Regions from separate parts of the Homo sapiens genome. Here regions 1, 3, 4, 5, 6 and 7 are each linked to region 2. Evidence: promoter capture Hi-C in 16 types of primary human blood cells and fetal thymus (Javierre and others, 2016). All regions are on one chromosome and are shown on one strand. The core of a region is centred on a gene start or on the middle of the fragment in contact, and the rest is flanking DNA. Distances in the headings are between cores, read along the strand shown. Region 1 overlaps CAPN7 (calpain 7). Region 2 holds the start of COLQ (collagen like tail subunit of asymmetric acetylcholinesterase). Region 3 has its middle 51 kb from the start of RBSN. Region 4 overlaps SH3BP5 (SH3 domain binding protein 5). Region 5 has its middle 10 kb from the start of CAPN7. Region 6 overlaps CAPN7 (calpain 7). Region 7 has its middle 38 kb from the start of CAPN7.

Evidence for each region. Contacts are between HindIII fragments. The CHiCAGO score rates a contact against its expected background, and 5 or more counts as called.
Region 1: a fragment that was not itself captured here is called in contact with the fragment with the promoter of COLQ in region 2 in 5 of 17 cell types (megakaryocytes, activated CD4 T cells, total CD8 T cells and 2 more); the score reaches 7.2 in megakaryocytes.
Region 3: a contact is called between a fragment that was not itself captured here and the fragment with the promoter of COLQ in region 2, in 1 of 17 cell types (endothelial precursors). The highest score is 5.2, in endothelial precursors.
Region 4: a fragment that was not itself captured here is called in contact with the fragment with the promoter of COLQ in region 2 in 3 of 17 cell types (M1 macrophages, monocytes and M0 macrophages); the score reaches 6.4 in M1 macrophages.
Region 5: a fragment that was not itself captured here is called in contact with the fragment with the promoter of COLQ in region 2 in 5 of 17 cell types (endothelial precursors, megakaryocytes, activated CD4 T cells and 2 more); the score reaches 8.3 in endothelial precursors.
Region 6: a fragment that was not itself captured here is called in contact with the fragment with the promoter of COLQ in region 2 in 2 of 17 cell types (monocytes and M2 macrophages); the score reaches 7.2 in monocytes.
Region 7: a contact is called between a fragment that was not itself captured here and the fragment with the promoter of COLQ in region 2, in 1 of 17 cell types (endothelial precursors). The highest score is 7.1, in endothelial precursors.

What each region holds. Positions count from the first base shown.
Region 1 is chr3:15,237,399-15,240,417 of GRCh38, reverse strand. The region is part of intron 12 of CAPN7 (calpain 7); the gene reads right to left. Among named protein-coding and RNA genes, the nearest start is that of SH3BP5-AS1, 15 kb to the left of the region's middle. The HindIII fragment of the contact is 172 bases long and covers 1,261-1,432 here.
Region 2 is chr3:15,520,338-15,523,191 of GRCh38, reverse strand. It overlaps COLQ (collagen like tail subunit of asymmetric acetylcholinesterase), which reads left to right and starts at 1,486. Exons shown (of 17, transcript NM_005677.4): 1 at 1,486-1,672. The coding sequence starts at 1,567. The HindIII fragment of the contact is 3,239 bases long and covers 1-2,854 here.
Region 3 is chr3:15,148,472-15,151,441 of GRCh38, reverse strand. No RefSeq gene overlaps it. Among named protein-coding and RNA genes, the nearest start is that of RBSN, 51 kb to the right of the region's middle. The HindIII fragment of the contact is 4,373 bases long and covers 1-2,970 here.
Region 4 is chr3:15,257,500-15,260,226 of GRCh38, reverse strand. SH3BP5 (SH3 domain binding protein 5) reads left to right here. Exons shown (of 9, transcript NM_004844.5): 6 at 424-466; 7 at 1,177-1,396. SH3BP5-AS1 (SH3BP5 antisense RNA 1) reads right to left here. Exons shown (of 3, transcript NR_046084.1): 1 at 2,621-2,727; 2 at 1-1,593. Among named protein-coding and RNA genes, the nearest start is that of SH3BP5-AS1, 4.7 kb to the right of the region's middle. The HindIII fragment of the contact is 1,708 bases long and covers 520-2,227 here.
Region 5 is chr3:15,194,751-15,197,545 of GRCh38, reverse strand. It overlaps the pseudogene COL6A4P1. Among named protein-coding and RNA genes, the nearest start is that of CAPN7, 10 kb to the left of the region's middle. The HindIII fragment of the contact is 736 bases long and covers 902-1,637 here.
Region 6 is chr3:15,212,401-15,215,275 of GRCh38, reverse strand. All of the region lies in intron 2 of CAPN7 (calpain 7), which reads right to left. Among named protein-coding and RNA genes, the nearest start is that of CAPN7, 7.6 kb to the right of the region's middle. The HindIII fragment of the contact is 7,625 bases long and covers 1-2,875 here.
Region 7 is chr3:15,166,555-15,169,634 of GRCh38, reverse strand. It overlaps the pseudogene COL6A4P1. Among named protein-coding and RNA genes, the nearest start is that of CAPN7, 38 kb to the left of the region's middle. The HindIII fragment of the contact is 1,710 bases long and covers 874-2,583 here.

The sequences.
Region 1 (3,019 bases), core at 97-2,596, 280 kb after region 2:
TTAGTTCTCTTATTAGAGGATGAACTGAGTACTTATCAATTCTTTTCCCCTCAAATCAACTTGAAATTAATATTTTTAACACTTTCACCAGGTCATACATCGATCAAAAACTGTAAATGGCTGCCTACTCCCTAGAGCTAATAGTGCAGTCTTTCACCGCATGTAGTTAAGTTAAAATTATATAAAATTCAAAAATCAGTTCCTTAGTCACAGCAGCCACATTTCAAATGTTAAATGACCACAGGTAGCTAGTAGCTATAGTGGCTAATGCATTGGGCAGCCCAGATACAGAACATTTCCATCATTGCAGGAGTTCTATTAGACAGTACTGCCTTAGAGCATGAAGTATTTTCTGCCTTTTCAAAGCTCACTCTACTCTGGCTCCACTTTATTTTCCAGTATTTATACTCCATGTACCTTTGGCTCTAATCTAGTTTTTCCTTTCAGAGTGCAATAAAATCCTTATTCAATTTTGCCTCTAAAGGCAATTGATCATGCTGTTCCCTTTTTCTGAAAGGCCCTCTTTGATCCCTTTAGCTACCCTTTCTTCTCAGTGCAGACAGACATAGTGAAGAAAAGAGAAAGGAACATGGACTTTGGGGTCAGAATAAAATGGGACCAAATTCCAGTTCTTTGGGTGGGTCATTTACCCTCTCTGAACATTCATTTACTCATATGTAAAATGAAGATTATGATGTGTCCCTAGAAGATGGCTGTGAAGATCAAATGGAATTAACATAAAGTATCTAGCATTTAGTAATTTCTTTCTTTTAATTACTTTGAATTCTCCAACCTTCATAGTGCTAGCAATCTGTATTACATTAGTTTAAAACAAATAGTATCCTATCTTATACTGTTTCCTACAAATGTAGTCATCTTGTCTCCCCAATGTAATCATCAACTCCTTGAAATGGTAACACTATCATCCCTTTTCAGATTTTCCACTCATTTATGGAACAGAATGTAAAGGTAAATGCTTAGTAAATACCAGGCATGTCTACAGAATTGATTACATTGATTCGGGAAAATAAAAGAGGTGGTAAATCCAAAATAATATTTGTCTTACTGCAAGCAGTCACCTTAGGAAATTGTGTACTTTTTCTAATGATATCATAAATCAAACTGTTTGGAAGACATCTAAACAACCACAACAACACATTCCTTTGCTATTTTAAATGGTGACAAATTGTGGCTGGGGGTAGATGTATGTGATTTCTGGACATAAGACTCATTCCTCTTAGGCTATATTCCCTAGAAGCTTCATTAATACAGTTTCTTTCATCAGTATCTTCTACACTGTATGTGTCTCACCACACATAAGTCAACCGACATTTAACTCTAATTCCTTTCTTTTCAAAAAATTTAACTCATTTCAGGACTCTCAACACTTCCTAAAAGAGGAGCACAAAGGAGAGCAAATTGTTGCTAAGCTTTTCAGAGACAGACCCCCAGCATCAGTGATATTCAAGGACACCAAGATATGGATGTAGATTTTGTTTGGATGGGTAGAGAACCAGCTCTAAAAAGAAGGAATGCTAGAGAACAAAAAAAAAAAAAAAAAAAAAAAATTTGATTTTGCTGAAGCATCCAATTTCTAAAGTTATTTCCAAGTAGCAGCAAAGGAAAAGCCTTGGACAGCTTCAGAAATTCTATGATAACACCTGTCTGAACTGAAGTCAGCACCCTGATCTGGAGATGTAACTCCATAGTAGACTATGAAACATCACCTCAAAAACACAAAAATGACCCAAAGAGAGAATCGCTGAGACTAAAATGAAGACCTTGGAATATGCAAGCAGATTAGAGGTAGTCAAACAAAAATGATAGCACTTTTATGCAAATATTAATAAATATTGAAAATCTCTTTAAGTGAAGAAAGTCACCAATGATGTAATACTGAGCAGAGCTGTCAGAGTCTAAGATTAGGTCTTTCTGCAAAAAAGAGGTCCTAGAGATAAATGCTTGAATCAAATATGGAAATATTTTAAAACAGAAGTCAGAATTGGCCAGGCGTGGGGGCTCACGCCTGTAATCCCAGCACTTTGGGAGGCCAAGGTGGGTGGATCATGAGGTCAGGAGATCGAGACCATCCTGGCTAACGTGGAGAAACCCTGTCTCTACTAAAAATATAAAAAATTGGCCGGGCGTGGTGGTGGGGCGCCTGTAGTCTCAGCTACTTGGGGGGCTGAGGCAGGAGAATGGCATGAACCTGGGAGGCGGAGCTTGCAATGAGCTGAGACCGCGCCACTGCACTCCAGCCTGGGCGACACAGTGAGACTGTCTCAAAAAAAAAAAAAAAAAAAAAAAAAGAAGTCAGAATTAAATAAACACTTCAAAATATAAGTAGCAAAAAATAAAAAATAAAAATAATGCACCTAGGAAACTCCTTGAATATATACCCAATAAAAGAGTACTGGAGAAAACCTTTATATATAAATATACATTTTTTGAGGCAGGGTGTCACTGTGTCAACTAGGCTGGAGTGCAGTGGTGTGATCTCAGCTCACTGCAACATTGGGCTCAAGTGATCCTCCTACCTCAGCCTCCCAATTAGCTGGGACTACAGGCACGTGCCACCATGCCCAGCTAATTTTTTAAAAAATTATTTATTGTAGAGATGGGGTCTTGCTATGTTGCTCAGGCTGGTCTTGAACTCGTGGCCTCAAGCATTCCTCCTGCCTCAGCCTCCCAAAGTGCTAGGATTATAGGGGTGACCCACGGTGCCCAGCCACTTAAAATGTTTTGACTGGCATTTGTGGCAAATTATAATTTTAAAAAACCCCAAACTTATTGGCGTACTTAATTTCACATAATTTTTATATTTTTTGCTTTAAGTGGGCAATTTTTATGCCACTTTTAAAGAAGCAATTCTATAGAGCATGGCTGGGGGGTTCAACACTGACCAGCTAATTTAGAAAGTTCCAAGACTATAAATTTTAAAATGGTGCAATAGGTCCCTACTGTCCTCATTAACTTCATATACAGTCATGCACCATATAATGAAATGTTAAGACAGCGA
Region 2 (2,854 bases), core at 237-2,736:
CTGCTTCCCCCTCCATGTGGCCTCTTCAATAGTCCAGACTTTTTAAAGTGGCAGCTGATTTTCAAGAAAAGGCAAAAGCAGGAGCTGCCAGGCCTTTTAAGGCCTAGGCCAGGAGATGGCACAGTGTCCCTTTAGCCACATTCTATTGGTCAAAGTAAGTCACAGAGCCACCTCAGATTTAAGGGAGGGGAACTAGCCCTGCTTTTTGCTGGGAAGAGTGTCATGCACACACTGGGTTGGGAGGACTTTTGGAGGCCATCTTTGCACCCAGGCTACCATGGCTCCCTTGGGTCTCCTTTGTGCTGTTCCTATGTGCAAGTTCTAATCCGTGTAGGATTCATCCCCATTACCTCACTTAACTTTCCAACAAACCTTTAAAGGGAACATTGTCTCCATTGTATGGATGAGAAAACTGAGGCTTAGAGAGGTGAGCTTGTCCACTGCCACTCAGAGCTGAGAGTCAAGCCCAAGTGTGGTGCTACAGCTGTAAAATATCACTTTATACCACGCCCTGACCCAACTCCACCTTCCCCATAATGAGCACAGGGGCAGGATGCCCACCCCAGCATCCAGTAACTAGCAGACTGTTTCTGAGTTAACTCCTATGAGGCATGTAATATGTAAATTAAAGCAAAATGAACAACTCTGTGAATTATTATTTTGTTTTAGTCATCTAATCATCTCTATAACAGGCTTTTATAAACTCATAAAAGGTATTAAGAATGTGATAATTTTTATTTGAATAATTTTGTCTAGCCAAAGATTAAGTTAGTGATGTTATTTTTCTGAATATAGTTTGATAAAAATCATTCACTTTTCTATACTTTTACTGTTTTCATTTATTTTGCCTTGCATTGAATCAAAAGGTTGCAGCTTTTGGAGAGAGAAACACTTTTTCACAGAGAAAGCTGTTTGGAAATATAAACTACTTCCTTCCTCCTTTTTATTGGATGATTAAAGAAAAAAATTAAAAGTTAACTTTACATTTGTTACACAATGGGTAAAAATGTCACAGGCTGACAGTGGAGGGGTTTTTCTCCATGAAATTCAGTTTGAATCAGGAGAGTTGTTTCTGCCCAGTTCCAAGGAGGTAGATGGTGGCACATAACCAATTAGGAATCTCTCTGCCCTTGAGGACTGCCTCCAGTGAACATCTGAGACTTGGCTGCCTTCTCATCACCTCTTCACTAGCCACTTACCTCAGTCTCCAAAAAAGAAAATTTTGACATCTTAATTTTAATGTGGGCATTTGATATGGAGCTTGAGATAAATATAACTCTCTGTAGCATGGAGACAGTTTAATGGGAAATGGTTGGCATTCTTTCTTGGTAAAGGCATGGGAGACAGGAGAGGTGGGGGAGGGAGAGAGAGGGAGGGGGTGAGGAGGAGGGAGAGGGAAAGAGAAAGAGGGAAAGACACACACACACACAGACACACACACACACGCACACACACACACACAAACACACGCGCACGCAAACAGCAGTGAGGAAGAGAAAAGCAGAGATAAGCAAGGCTCCGCAGCAGCCTCCTTTCTAACTTGACCCTCGCCAGACCCTGGCCAGCATGGTTGTCCTGAATCCAATGACTTTGGGAATTTATCTTCAGCTTTTCTTCCTCTCTATCGTGTCTCAGCCGACTTTCATCAACAGCGTTCTTCCAATCTCAGCAGGTAAATGATGGCCACAACTTTCCTCTCTTCCATCTGTCAGGGGACAGGGGGAGGAAGGAAGATTGTTTTGCAATGTGTCCTGATGTTTTTGCCATTCAACTGTTGGTGGAGGGAGGTTGGAAGGAAGACGGCCACCCCAGCAGCTTCCTGTCACCCGAGCTTGTCTCGGAAGCCCCTTCTGTCCTTGTTCCAACCGGCTCCTACCTGGCTGCTCAAAGCAGAGACACTTTGAAAAATGGTTTCTGCCTCCCCTATTCTCCCCATTTGCTGCATGATTTCATCTTGGTCAGGAATTTGGGAGAGCTTAAAAGAGACAGAGGTGTGCAAGTAATAGAGAAGTGAGTCTCAGATGTTTCTATAAATACATCTCTGACCTCTTCGAAGGGGGCTTGCCTCACAGGGGCTGTTGTGGAGTAAACAAACCTCTTTCCAGACCCAGATAGCATCCATGGCCACAATAGTCCCTCGAAGGGAAAATGCAGGTGGCAGGGGCCGGTGGGGTGGGGGGTGAACAGCGGCGGGGCAGTTGCAGCCTCAGGACTAGGTTTTCCCTTTCTCCAGACCTGTCTTCCTGGGTGCGACTTCCCTTCAGCCTCAGACAAGGCAGCTGGAGGTCCTGAGAGAAGTGAGCTTTCCAGGGAGAAGTGGAGGGGGTTCCACAGTGACAGCCAGGTCTGGAGCTGAGTGTGTCTGCCGGGTATGAGGCTGGGAGATTTGGGGAAGGGGCTGTGTCTGCCAGCCTGCAACCTTTTCTGAGGTCAGCAGCCTGTTGCCCTTGTCTTGTCTGACCCAGAGCAGGGGAAGTATTCGGTTACTAGTATGGCCTATTTAAACCTTTCTGAGGAAACTCAAATGTTTCCGGAGGGCTTGAAGGAGGCAGGCAGACCCTCACAGCCCCCCTCAATTCACCTCAGTGACCCCTGACTCTCCCCAGCAAAGTTTTAGTTATGCCTCCAACATGAGTCTCATAAATACTTCAACTGAGACAGAAATTTCACTATCGCTGCCTTTGCTGGAAACACAGGGAGGGCCAGAAATGCCAGGCTCTCAGAGAGGGCACATCTCTGAATCCAGCTCCCAACTGCTGTCCATTGATAAAAACAGCTCATCAGCAAGTTGTGTAGCCAACGTTTGTGGGCCATGAGGGAGTGACTCAGAGACTGGTGTGAGGCTAATTATAAA
Region 3 (2,970 bases), core at 186-2,685, 370 kb after region 2:
AAGACTATTCTTACTACAGGTCATTCAGATGCTTCCCTATGTGGCTGAGAATGTGGGAGTTATAGTTAGCCACCAATGGCTTGCACATAACTCTGGACACACCCCTGGGGATATGCTGGGCAAACAGAAGTTATCTATTAGTCATGTCATTGTCTGTGGAGAAAATGTATATTATAGAGAGAATTGTGAGCTAGGGGACTGGGATGTGATAGGGACCATCTTTATTACATAATACAAATGCCAGAAGGATTTTTAAATCCCATGGTTTTTAGTTAATTTTAAATTATGGAAAACCACTTTGCCCCACTGGTGCCTATTTTAAGGTTGATTCATGTATATACCACTGGTTCTCAAACATTTTGGCCTAAGGATAACATTATATTCTTCCCCCCACCCCAACTTTATTGGGGTATAATTGACAAATAGAATTGTATAATTTGAGATGTACAATATAATGAGTTGATATATATGTATACATTGTGAAATGATACTAGAATCAAGTCAGTTAATATGTCCATCACCTCATATAGTTACCATTTTTTTGTATGTGGCGAGAACATTTAACATCTACTCTTTTAGCAAATTTCTAGTATATTATATAGTGCTATTAACTATAATTACCATCTTGTACATTAGAACTCCTGAACTTACTCACTTATAACTGAAAGATTGTACCTTTTAACCAAAATCTCTCAATTTCCTGCACCTCTCAACCTTTACACTCTTAAAAGATTATTGGGAACCTTGAAGAGCTTTTGTTTATGTGGTTTCCATGTATTATTATTTACCAAATTAGAAATTAGAACTAAGAATATTAAAAATTGTTTATCTTATTTCAAAATAACAACAATAAACTCACTAAAGTTAACATTCATGACATATTTCTTTATGAAAAATAACTGTATTTTCCCAAACAAAAAATATTAGTGAGAAAGTAGCATTGTTTAGCATATTTAGCTTACTGGAAGGCAGCTGGATTTCCAATCTGTCTCTGTATTCAGTCTGTGGTGATGTCACTTGCCATGTGGCTTCTTGATAACTTTACCACAACTTGGGAGAGAATAAGAATGAAAAAAAAAAAAAAAGACATTTTGGTGTAATTGGAAAAATAACTTTAACTTTGTGACCCTCCCAAAAGGATCTTGGAAACACGAGGGGCCCTTTGACCATGCTTTCTGAACCATTGGTATCTATGTTGTCATTGCTCCACTTAGAGTGGCACATTGTTTTATTATTCTGAACATTTAGGGTGTTGGAAAATAAGCAGAAATCAGAGGAAAATGTAGCTGCTGAGACCCATGTAAGCTCATCTATTTCTTGTTTTTTTGTTTTTTGTTTTGAGATGGAGTCACATTTCTTTACGTTTACAAGATAATTGCTCAACTTTTCTATTTATTTTTCCTCAGTAAGCACAGTCTTAGGTGTTAGAAATTCATTCAGGAACATGATTGATGGATTTTTGCTATTTTATTTAGAAATAATGAAAATATTCCTTCCCATTTTTATTATGTTTTAAAATGTCCTTTAAGTGTTATTTTATTTTTTCTGCCTGGTCTGTGGTTCAATGAGCCCAGTCAATGTTAGGAGAATGACATAAGGTCTATCCCACCCATTAGGACCATTGACTCCAATTTCAGACAAACAGGATAAAGCAAATTCTTGTCTGTCTGGAGTGAAAGATGGTTTTGTCCCCCTTCTTTACTGTGCCAACATTATAAAACCAAGATATTTTGTAAAGACCCTTTAGTACAGGGCTAGAAATATAGTGCAAGTGACATTTATAATTTTAAATTTTATAGCAGCTATCTTAAAGAAAGTAAAAAGAAACAGGTGAAGTTAATTTTAATAATATATTTTATTTATCTCAATATATCTAAAATATTATCATTTCATTAGTAATTAATATAAAAATTAATAAGACATCTTACTCTTTCTATACACTATCTTCTAAATGTTACTTTACACTGAAGGCACATCTCAGTTTGGACCAGACACATTTCAAGTGCTCAATAGCCCCTGTATTTGACAGAACAACTCTAGTAGGTCTTAGTTTCTTTTTAATGCATTTCTCACAAGAGAAGGCGACTTCACAATGTGTTGTCCTCTGAATGGCTTTTAATGTTGTTGGCTTGAAAAGCTGGTCAGATTGGTCTACTCAACAGCAGAGACATCTCTGTGCAGATGTAGACCAGTTTCAGAATGGGGCCCATAAATTTGGAAGTTCAAGTTGAAAGTGTACAAGAACAAATAACTAAATCATTGTTCCAGTTACCCATAACTTACAGTCCCACTGTCCCCCACAGCTCTCACAACTTAGTTGTGTAAAATAATCATTTTATTATGTTCACAGACTCCGTGGGTAGGGACACTGAAAAAGAAGCAAAAGAGGGGCCTCTTTCTTCCATGCCTGGGGTCTCAGCTGGGTTGACTAGTCTCAGACTAGACCGTCTGGGCTCTAGAAGCAGGAGTTGGAGGACCCACTGCCCCTTCTCACATGTCTGCTGCTCTGGCGTCTTAGCTGGAACTGCACAAGGACAGGTGGAGCTGGAACCGACAGGAAGTACTCCAGCAGGGAGGGTCTGTCCTGAGAGTGAGTGCTCCAAGAGGCCAAGGCTGAAGCTGCAAGGCTCATGACCCAGCCTCAGAAGTCAGGCTGTAACATGGCTTTCTCATGCTGTTGGTTGCAAGCCAGTCACTAAGTCCAGACCAGATTCAAGAGGAGGAGACTTTGACTCCTCCCCAGCATGGAGGAGGGGCATGGTCACAGAGCATGTGGAATGGGAGATATTGTTTTCTGGCTTTGGAAAATGCAATCTGTCAGACTCCCAAATTCTAGATATTTAAAAAATATATATGTTATGAATGTGTGGTTAAATAATAACTTACGCATTGGTTACACAGCAAAACCTTACTTATGGAACAAAGTCAGATTTTCTAAGGTCACAAAAAATATTTACATAACTTTATAGT
Region 4 (2,727 bases), core at 124-2,623, 260 kb after region 2:
TTTAAGCAGCCCCTTCTCCAGCCTCAGCTGCTCTTCATCCCTGGGGAGCCAACTTCATTAGGAGAGCAGATCCAGGCCACCCTTACTGCTGGGTATAACCTGTGAGGCTCTGAACAGCCTTCCCACAGAGGAGGAACATGAGCTAAGTTGCAGAGTCCCCAAGATATGTGTGTGTGGGTTCCCCGTGTCTTGAGATGGGCCTCCTGTTAATATAGCCCTGGGTGAGCCCAGTCGTTCCATCTGGTGTCTGTCAGTCTCCAGAGCTAGGAGCATCACTGACATGTCACGGCCTTGTTAAGAGTTTACTAAATATTGGAAGGACGACCTGGCCAGTGGTAGCTGATGCCTCTTGTTCATCTTGTGGAGTTGACTGTGGTCACTGTATTATATTACTCTGATGGCTTTCCTTCCTGTCTTCTGCAGGCCTTATTTTGAACTCAAGGCAAAGTACTATGTGCAGCTCGAGGTATGTGTAGCTTTGGGCTTCGTCACTGATGAGATTTTTCTGCACTCAAAGCTTCACTTTTCTGGGGTAGCAGAGTATCACATGGGCCACTTGCTATAAGGGGAAAGTGGAGAGACAGGCTTTACTGAGTTTTCAGACCTCAAAATTGTCTCGGTTGGGTCTTCAGTGGTCTCTGAACCTCTGTAACTGCCATTCAGTCACCTTCTCTGTTGTACTAGGCCAGTGGTTCTCACAGCATGCTCTTAGGACCAGCAGCATCAGCATCACCTGGAGACCTGATAGACCAGGTCCCACTCTAGACCGACTGAATTAGAAACTCTGAGGTTGGAGTCTAGTGAGCTGAGTCTTAACACCCAAGGGGATTTTGATGCAAGCTCAACTTTGAGAACCACTGTACTGGGAACCAGATGTCTAGACTGTGGGACTTTGGTGTGTCTGATGCCCATTTTTGCTTCCCTGATGGGGTTTGTTCCACCAGTGAGAGTTTTTGGATATTAGAGGTTGTCACCTGGATGGGATCTGGGGATGGTGGTGGCTGATTTTGTCTGGTGAATGAATAGCAGTTACAATGGTAATTAGGTCTTCAGTCATGTCTTGGAAAATTCCTTGAAGTAGAATGATGGGCAGAAAATGTACTTGAACCTGTCATTCAGAAAGCATCTTAAGGCTAGCAGGGTAGTCTTCACTTAGTCTCCTGTTCTCTTGATCAGCAACTGAAAAAGACTGTGGATGACCTGCAGGCCAAACTGACCCTGGCAAAAGGCGAGTACAAGATGGCCCTGAAGAACCTGGAGATGATCTCAGATGAGATCCACGAGCGGCGGCGCTCCAGTGCCATGGGGCCTCGGGGATGCGGTGTTGGTGCTGAGGGCAGCAGCACATCTGTGGAGGATCTGCCAGGGAGCAAACCTGAGCCTGATGCCATTTCTGGTAAGTCAGGGGCTCCACTGGGTATGTGGGGAGATATCAGACTGTGTGATTTGTTTCCCAAGGTCCTCACTTTCTCTGGCCATCAGTGAAAGGTCTCAGAGTTGGGCAGGCCTGAGGGCTATTTCTGGTGGGTTCCCATGTTTTATGGAACACTGTGTTCATTAAGAAGGTACTAAGTGTTCCTCAAAGTCAGGATTCTGTGGTCAAATAAATTGGGAAAATGTTACACCTTCACTCCTCTTTGAGAGTCAAAGTATACATTTGAACATTCAAGGCTGAGAAGTCCTGCAGGAAAGAAGAGCTGTAATCAGATTTGATTCAAAGCTACCTTTACATCATTACTAAGGCATGATGTGGGCAAGGGCCTAACTTTGTATTTCAGTTTCTTCACCTGTAAAATGGGGAGTATGACGCTATCTACTGTATACTATCCGTTGTGTAGGGTGGTGGTTCAGCTTACATGAATCAACCCCTGACACCCAAGAAGCACTCAGCAAATGGTGGCTCTTACTGACATCTGACCATAGAGACCTCTTTTCCCAGGGCCTCCCCCTGGAAAACTGATAGAAGTTTGACTTGGTTTCTGTCATGCTCATCAAGAAAACCCACCCAACGCTGTCTTTGCATACTTCCTTTCTTTTCCTTACCTGTGCAATAATCCCTGTCGGCTCTTTCCCAAGCTCCTTCCTCAGGAGTTAATTCCTTCAACAAATATTTAAGTACTAGGTTCAAGGTAAAGGAAAAGGAAACTATCATTTGAACAACTACTATGTATGAGGTACTTTAATATATACATCATCTCAAACCCTGCATGGAGAGGATCATGAAGCTTACAGAGGTAAAGTAACTTGACCAAGGTCACACAGCAAGTAGTGGAGTTAGGGATTCAATTCAGGTCTGAGCCCATTTTCTGTCCCCAACATTACAGTATTTATCATTTATAAGAAACCTTTATGGAATGCTACAAGGCTGTTTTTAAAGAGAAAGGGGGGGAAAAATGGAGTAGGAAAGTTCTAATAAGGAGTGGGATTGTGGGCAGGCTGAGGGAAAACCGCTAAAGGCCAAAGAGGCTTTGAAACCATGGGAATAACATGTGTCTGGGCCTTGTTACTTTGGTCTACCAAATAATGTGGCTACAGAGCATTGTAAAGGATTTCTGTTCTTTTGCAGCAAATGGTGATGTGGGTAGCCTTTGAGTGTGTTCTTTATGAGATCAGAAGTTACCTGGAGATAACAAAGGTCCCAACAGATGTTCCATGCTGGCCTGTTTCTTCTAGCAGCTCTTGCTTCTATTGCCCTAAGAAAGAAGCCTGAGTCCAGCTGGCTTTGTT
Region 5 (2,795 bases), core at 20-2,519, 330 kb after region 2:
AATTTTTCTCATCTGTAAAATAGGTAGATTAGTAACTACCTCATAAAGTTTTAGAAGGATTGAATGAGATAATGCCAGTAAAGCCTTTAGCACAACACCTGGCACATATGAAGTATTTGACAAAGTTATGTCCTGCAACACTTGACTGTGCTCTTTACTCTTCATGACTGTGTTCTTTTGGGATAATCTGTCAGTGCAGGGGCAGAAGAAATGGTTACAGAACCATTTAACCCTTATCTCATTTACCTCTGAGCTGCTTGGAATTCCACTTCCTGAACTCTGATCATCTTGGGAAACAGAAGCAACAACAGCATCCTCTGAAGAGCTCAGTCATTGATAGGCAATGGGAGTGTTTATCACATCTTTTTCTTATAGTCTCTGAGTGCAGCTTCACAATCCTTTACTGCACCCTTAAGCCAGATGTGTTTTGGAATTTGAAATTCACAGAGAACTCCCAGACAGTAGGACTGAATCTTGATAAGGAACTGGAAGCATATACCAAACTGCATTTCAGAATTTTTCTAGATTATTGCAGTGTGCTTGCCTCTTCCTCCCTTTCGAGTAGGATTTTCCTATAGGGATCATCTTATGCCTCTTATCACTGTGCGTTGGGTGTGTGTGTGGGCGGGGGGGGGGGTGCAGATTGTCTCTTTAACAGAGCTCTAATCAAAAGGAGTGATATTTAAGGAGCTGCACCCAAATGAACCACACCAAGGCATCTCATCTTCACCTGAACCTGATTTAGATGACAAGCTCCTGGACTTCAAGCTGATGTTTTAATAGTTTGAGACTTGAGAATTCTAGGGGTGTGATTTGAATGTATTTTGCATGTGGGAGGCATGAGAAATATGGCCAGAAAGCAAACTGTGGCAGACTGTATTTTACAAATAGGCCAAAAGCTTTATCTTACATCCCACGTGATCTCCTTACAAGGGTATCTTCATGTCCCTTCTTTTAAGCGGTAGGATCTTTGTCCCCTACCATGCATCCTGGACATAACTTTGTGACTGCCTTGACTAATAGTGTATAGTGGAAGTGCTACCATCTAACTTATGAGGCTAAATCATAAAATGCCACTCACTTGTACCTTGCTCTTATCATCTAGACACCTTGGACTGGATGACATAATTTGCATTGTTTTAGTAGTTACAGCTTCTACGTGGCTGATGGCTAAAATAGTATTCACAGTCCTCTTCCAGAGCAGGAACTTGAAAGTGCTTCCACTTCACAAATTCCCAAAGGTTAAATGTATAATGGCATCAAATTAAGGAAGTTTATTCTTTTCAGATGATTGCAAGCTGGTTTATTCAGTAGAAATAGAAAATAAGATTGTTTTCTCCCTTTTCAAAAGAAATTTTGCTGTAGCAGATATTCCTATTACACAACAAGTGGAAATTGTGTTGGTTTATACACAGTTTTTCCCAGGCACAGGGAACCATATTAGTATGAGTAGAATTTAAAACATCAACAGGATGGCTACTACTCAAGCCGGAACCTTTTCAGCTCAAAATAAAACTACGCCTGTCTTGAGAGCAGTTCCACCAGCTCAGACTTCCATTCCATCTACACAGTCTCTGAATGCAATCCAGAATTTCCACGTTATGGTTTTTTTTTTTCATTGTTGTTGTTCTTAAGCTTTTTAAAATTTTTGTATGTGTACTTTTAAAAAAGTTTTCAGCTTTTATTTCAGATACAAGGGATGCATGTATAGGATTGTTACATGGGTACATTGGACCTAGGTAGTGAGCAGAGTAACCATCCATTATGATTTTTTGTGTTTTTATTATTTATTTATTTATTTATTTATTTATTTTATTATACTTTAAGTTCTGGGATATACATGTGCAGAATGTGCAGGTTTGCTACATAGGTATACATGTGCCATGGTGGTTGGGTGTACCCATCAACCCGTCGTCTACATTAGGTATTTCTCCTAATGCTCTCCTTCCCCTAGCCCCCCACCCCGCAACAGGCCCTGGTGTATGATGTTCCCCACCCTGTGTCCATGTATTCACATTATTCAACTCCACCTTATGAATGAGAACATGCAGTGTTTGGTTTTCTGTTCCTGTGTTAGTTTGCTGAGAATTATGGTTTCCAGCTTCATCCATGTCCTTGCAAAGGACATGAACTCATTCTTTTTATGGCTGCATAATATTCCATAGGGTATATGTGCCACAGTTTCTTTATCCAATCTATCATTAATGGTCATTTGGGTTGGTTCCAAGTCTTTGCTATTATGAATTGTGCTGCAATAAACATACATGTGCATGTGTCTTCATAGTAGAATGATTTATAATCCTTTGGGTATATACCCAGTAATGGGATTGCTGGGTCAAATGGTATTTCTGGTTCTAGATACTTGAGGAATTGTCACACTGTCTTCCACAGTGGTTGAAGTAATTTACACTCCCACCAACAGTGTAAAAGCATCCTTATTTCTCCACATCCTCTCCAGCATCTGTTGTTTCCTGACTTTTTAAGGATCGCCATTCTAACTGGCATGAGGTGGTATCTCATTGTGGTTTTGATTTGCATTCTCTAATGACCAGTGATGATAAGCTTTTTTTCATAGTTTCTTGGCCACATAAATGTCTTCTTTTGAGAAGTATCTTTTCATATCCTTTGCCTACTTTTTAATGGGTTTTTTTTTCATGTAAATGTGTTTAAGTTCCTTGTAGATTCTGGATAGTAGCTCTTTTTCAGATGGATAGATTGCAAAAATTTTCTTCCATTCTGTATGTTGCCTATTCATTTTGATGATAGTTTCTTTTGCTGTGCAGGAGCTCTTTAGT
Region 6 (2,875 bases), core at 339-2,838, 310 kb after region 2:
TTTTTTTTAAATACACGGTCTCACTAGGTTGCCCAGGCTGGCCTTAAACTCTTAAACTACTGGGCTCAAGTGACCCTTCTGCCTTAGCCTCCCAAGTGGCTGGAACTACAGGCACTCACCACTGTGCCCAGTTTGTGCTGATGTTTTCAAAACTTTAGCCTTCTTAAATGCCTCTCTGAAGTATATACTAATTCCATTGATGAAAAAGATACCAAAGCTCAAAAATGTTGAAATATCTAGCCCAGTGTTTCTCAGCCTGGCATTATTGACATTTTGGGCTGGATAATTCTTTGTTGTGGGAGACTTTTTAGCAACAGCCTTGGCCTCTACCCAGCTAAATCCCAGAAGCATATTCCTTGCCACCCAGCAGCGTGAAAACCAAAAACTTCTCCAGAAATTGCCAAATGTCCCCTGGGGGGCAAATTGCTTTCTACTGAGACCCATTGATCTAGTCTAAGATTTCACAGCTACAAGTGAAAGGGTAGAGACTCAACAGGGATCTTTTAATTCCAAGTCTTGAACTCTGTACTACGACGGTTAATTTTACTTTTTATTTTTCGAGACAGGGTCTTACTCTGTCATCCAGGCTGAGGGCAGTGGTGTAATCACGGGTCAGTGCAGCCTCAACCTCCTGGGCTCAAGCAATCTTCCTGCCTCAACCTCTGAGGAGCTGGGACTACAGGCACACACCACCATGCCCAGCAAATTTTTTCAATTTTTGTAGGGGTGAAGTCTATGTTGCCTAGGCTGATCTTGAACTCCTAGATTCAAGGGATTCTCCTGCCTCAGCTTCCCAAAGTGCTGGGATTACAGGCATGAGCCACTGTGCCGGCCTATACTGGTTAATTTTAAATTATGTTACCTTTCCCCACCCCAAAATCAACTCTCTCTCAGGATTCTCTTAACTGTCAGCAGACTATCTTGTTTTAAAACTTAGGGTTCCTAACAGGATTTTTATTTGAAAAAGGACTTTTCTGCTTAAAATAATAAATAAGAAAATCCTTTAAATTGTCTAGAGATTATACTCCATTTCTTCAACAAAAGCAGAAAGAAGTTGGTAAAACAAGCTATGTTATGCTTTAAAAATCCTTTTTAAGGCCAGGCATGGTGGCTCACGCCTGTAATCCCAGCACTTTGGGAGGCCGAGGCGGGTGGATCACGAGGTCAGGAGATCGAGACCATCCTGGCTAACATGGTGAAATCCTGTCTCTACTAAAAATATAAAAAATCAGCTGGGTGTGGTGGCAGGCGCCTGTAGTCTCAGCTACTGGGGAGGCTGACGCAGGAGAATGGCGTGAACCCCGGAGGCGGAACTTGGCAGTGAGCTGAGATCGCGCCACTGCACTCCAGCCTGGAAGACAGAACGAGACTCCACCTCAAAAAAAAAAAAAAAAAATCCTTTTTGAACTCTATTTCACTGGCAAGTCTTTATTCTTCAAGAGATTGGGGTGTCTCATTTGATGCTTGAATATCACATATATATCAATGTTTAGAATTTATTTCCCAAAAATCACATGTAAGTTTTTAGGCTTAGCTGTATTTAATATAAAGTAAGAATAATTTTTAAAATTCCTTAGAAAAAAATGATTCATATTTATTTTTTCCAATTGTCACAAGGATTTCAAGGGTTTAAAGAGCAATCTTACTGGAATCAAGACCCTAGGGCATAAATGTGCTTGACTGTGTGTACATATGGAAAAGAAAGATGGAAATATACCTTAGGCTGCCAGAGATTCTACTCCTGGAATAATATCACCATATAATCTCTCCTTTCTAGAGCATTCTGCTTTAACATTTAGTCTAGCATGCTTCAGAAAGGGGTTTCCATGATAGTGCAATGTTGACACTGTTCTCTCTCCACACCTGATGAAGTCCTCCTGAGGACATGGACTGTCACTCATCTATTACCCTGTACTTACCATAGAGCCCAAACATGTATTCAATACATAGTTATTGAAATGAAGAAAACTATCTATGAAAAAACAAGGAGATCATGGAAGTAAACATGAAAGACTACCTTCCCTACTTCAAAGATAATTTTATTTGAAAACACTGGTTATGAAACAAAGTTCCTAATATTGGGCAGTTAAATTTAAGAACTTCATTTACTTGGCTGGGAAAAGAAAGTTCCTTTGAATTTTATATGATATTTTGAATACATGAATCAATACTTTGTATCAAGTGAGGTTCCAATAACACAGGCAGTACACTTTTCAATACATGCAATTTCTGGGCACTGTATTAAAAGTAAACCGCCTTGTTTTTAAGGGAACTGTCATAACAAGGAATCCAATGATTAAATCTACTTTATCCCAACGATGTTCTTGTAATTGCTCGTATCTACTCAAAATGAGTGGTAGAAAGTTACACAAAGTCCATGAGAATAAATATTCTTCTGCTTGGCGCTTTATCATGCAGCAACAGAAAAAGAGGGTTAAAAAGAATCCCTACAGAAATCAATGTATTTGTAAATACAATGTCAACATCAGTTACCTCTAACAAAACTGTGACCATTAAGACTATATATTTCTATTATTGTACCTGTTGTGCTGTTTACAAAAATAAATACAAGTAGTTCCAAGTCTCTGTTTACATGTCACTTTCCCAAGATATGGTTTTAAAGAGTTTAGCAAAGGTCTGAAAGTAGAAGACACCGAAAGAGAAGACACTGTGAACCTACTGCTGAAGTCTGTAAACACTGAAGAGGAACAGTCACTTAATTTTATAAGGAAGAGACGTGACAGATATTTTAAAAGCAGACTTTAACTGAATCCTAATCCTAACTTTGCCAATGATAAATTGTTTGAACATAGGTAATTCACCATCTCTGCACTCTGGGAAATTAGGAAACTGGACTATATTGTCTATAAGGTTC
Region 7 (3,080 bases), core at 479-2,978, 350 kb after region 2:
ACTTCTGGGGTTAAGTGATCCTCCAGCCTCACCGTCCTAAGTAGCTGAGACTACAGGCATGCACTCCCATGCCCAGCTAATTTTATAATCTTTTTTGCAGAGACAGGGTCTCATTATGTTGCCCAGGCAGGTCTCGAATTTCTGGCCTGAAGTGATCCTTGATACTTGGCCTCCCAAAGCTCTGGGATTACAGGTGTGAGCCACCATGTCTGGCCCCCTTCTGTTTTAACAGTTTGATGAAGAGTTGTGTATATTTACAGTAGAAGCCCTAAGGAACCGAGTGTGGACTGATCAAATCTTAAGTCACTGAAGCAGGCAACTACTTTAAAAAGGATACAAACATACTTGAATTTTTAAAATGTTATTTTCTTATTTATTTATTTTCTTCTCAGAAACTATTGTTTCTCACATGAAATTTAAAAAATTAACTTAATACATATAAATGAATGTTAATTTGCCAATCTTTTGGTATAGGGCCAAGGCTTCTTTGAGTATGAGCCCTGCTGATTGGATTTCATGTATTTTCTTTATAAACCATCCAATGTTATGTTATCAATAATTTCCAGTTTCAGTTTCTTTAAAGGAGAGTGACTTTTGAAACAATTCAAAACAGAAACAGAAATAGCTATTGATTTTTATAATCTTAAAAATGCAATCTTTTGTAATGCTATCTAGTACACTGGCAATTTTTTAAAAAATAACTCTTTTATTGAGTCTTTAAAGCAGTTAAGCTGGTTTTCATAGATGCAATAAATCTCTTTTACTCACACTCAAATCCTGCTGATTTGCACAATATTTGATTAATTATGTAATTATAACAACAAAACTGCCATAAACAAGCTGGGGACAAACCCGCCTTCATCTTGGTAAGCTTGTTCTTTCACTGGTTGAAGCGGAACTTCAGGCACTCATTGTTTTATGGGAGCATCACTCATGCTTTACAGAGGGAAGGGAGAACATTGATTTATCTGGGAGTCACTAAAGTGGAGGTTGGTCAGGAGAGTTCCTACTACATACCCAGTTAAACAAAAAAACACACACACCAGAAAAAACATAGTGGTTAAGTGTGTGCACTTTGGCATATGAATGCCCAAATTTTAAATCCTAGATTTGGCACTTACTGGCTGTTATGAAAATCTTTGTGTCTGTCTGTCTTCTAATCTATTTTTGTCTACCCATGCTAGTATTTCTTAGATTCAAATTAGAATCATAGATTTAAATTAGAATCGTTGAAATGTACATAATTGAGGTAAAAATTCAAGGCTGTAATTATGTTTTCAAGGGAAAATCACTGAGCTTTTTTTCTTGTTAAACACTGAGTGATCTGGTAATTTCTTGATTACTTGTGCTGAGGTCTAGAAATCTGAAATATCTAAATAAATTTCTATCTTTCTCTTTGACCTATATTTTTAGTTCCTTTCTCAGTTCTAGGAATGAGATACAAAATTGTTATAATGTGAATTTCATTTCCGTGTGCCTATCTGCCTATATTCTGTGGATGAGAAGGACAGAAGACGAGCACTACTAGTTCACAATATGAAGAGCTGAGAGTTGTTGTTGTTGTTGTTTTTTGATACTGCAGAGAAGCTAAAAAGAAACTTGCAATCAGAAAAAGTAGCCCAAAGTCTAGATGGGTTGGGGAAGGGAGTAGCCTAGAGGTAAATAGAAGCTATGATGATTTTACCAGAATTTTGTCTTGGATGATCACAATGATCATAATATCTACTATTTACTGGCCATTTGCCATGTGTCAGATACTCTGCTAAGCACTTTATGTGTATGATTGATGTGAATGCTCGGCAACCTCCAGACTGTAAGAAATATTCTCTTTCTCTTTTCCCCCAATCTGCTAAGACTGACAAGAATGTACAGTGCAGGCAATATTTAGGGTCCTCGGCTCCTCTTGACAATCCAAGGGCCCTGGATTATAGTGAAGCCTCCTTGGGCTGCTCCTATAGGGGCTAGCTGCAGAGATGCCCTTTCCTGCACGGTGGTCCTTTTCTCTGACGCTGGGTAGCCATGTATGTGTCACCAGTGGATGCTGGAGTCCAGCAAAGTTTGGGTTTTTGCCTTATTTTTCCATAATTTCGCCCCTACTCTCCAGAATTCAGCAAACACTTACCATGGGGTAAATGACTCCTTTCTCTACCCGCTTTAAGCTACATTCCTTTCCAATGAATGCCCCTTTAGGATAGCATTGCCAGATGAAATATAGGACACCCAATTACATTTGAATTTCATTCATATAAACAACAAGGGTTTTTTAAGTATGCCACACATATTGCATGGACCTAGGTCCTCCCACATGAAGACCTGAGCAGGGAGCCCAATTCCCACCTTAGACAACTTCCCTTTCAGCCGAGAAATGAAAAGGCTCTTCCTGGGGCCAAGGGAATCCAGAGATTAACAACTCAAGGCTGGGCTGCCCTTATTGAGAGGGAGTGGAGAAAATATATACATATATTTTTTAGAGGAATCTGCTAGATGACAAAAATAATAAAACACCAGCTACTTTTAACTCTACATCTTTAATACTGAGCTCTGCTCTGTTTACATGATATTACTGTCTTCTCACAATAAGCTTACTGAGTAGGTGTCAACATCCTCATTTTATAGATCAGGAAACTGAGATGCAAGGGGGCCAAGCTTGCTAGTAACCGAGGAGACAGGATTAAATTTAGAGCCACTTGCCCTGGAGGCTGGGCTTTAACACAAGGTGACTGATTTAATTCAGACTCTTTTTTAAAACAATTTCTTCTAAAAAAAAATGGGATACATGTGCAGAACGTGCAGGTTTGTTACGTAGGTATACGTGTGCCATGGTGGTTTGCTGCACCTATTGACTTGTCCTCTAAGTTCCCTCCCCTCAACCCACCACCCCCCGACAGGCCCTGGTGTGTGCTGTTTCCCTCTCAGTGTCCATCTATTCTCAATGTTCAACTCCCACTTATGAATGAGAACATGCGGTGTTTGGTTTTCTGCTACTGTGTTAGTTTGCTGAGAATGATGGCTTCCAGCTTCATCCATGTCCCTGCAAAGGACATTATCTCATTCCTTTTTATGGCTGCATAGTATTCCAC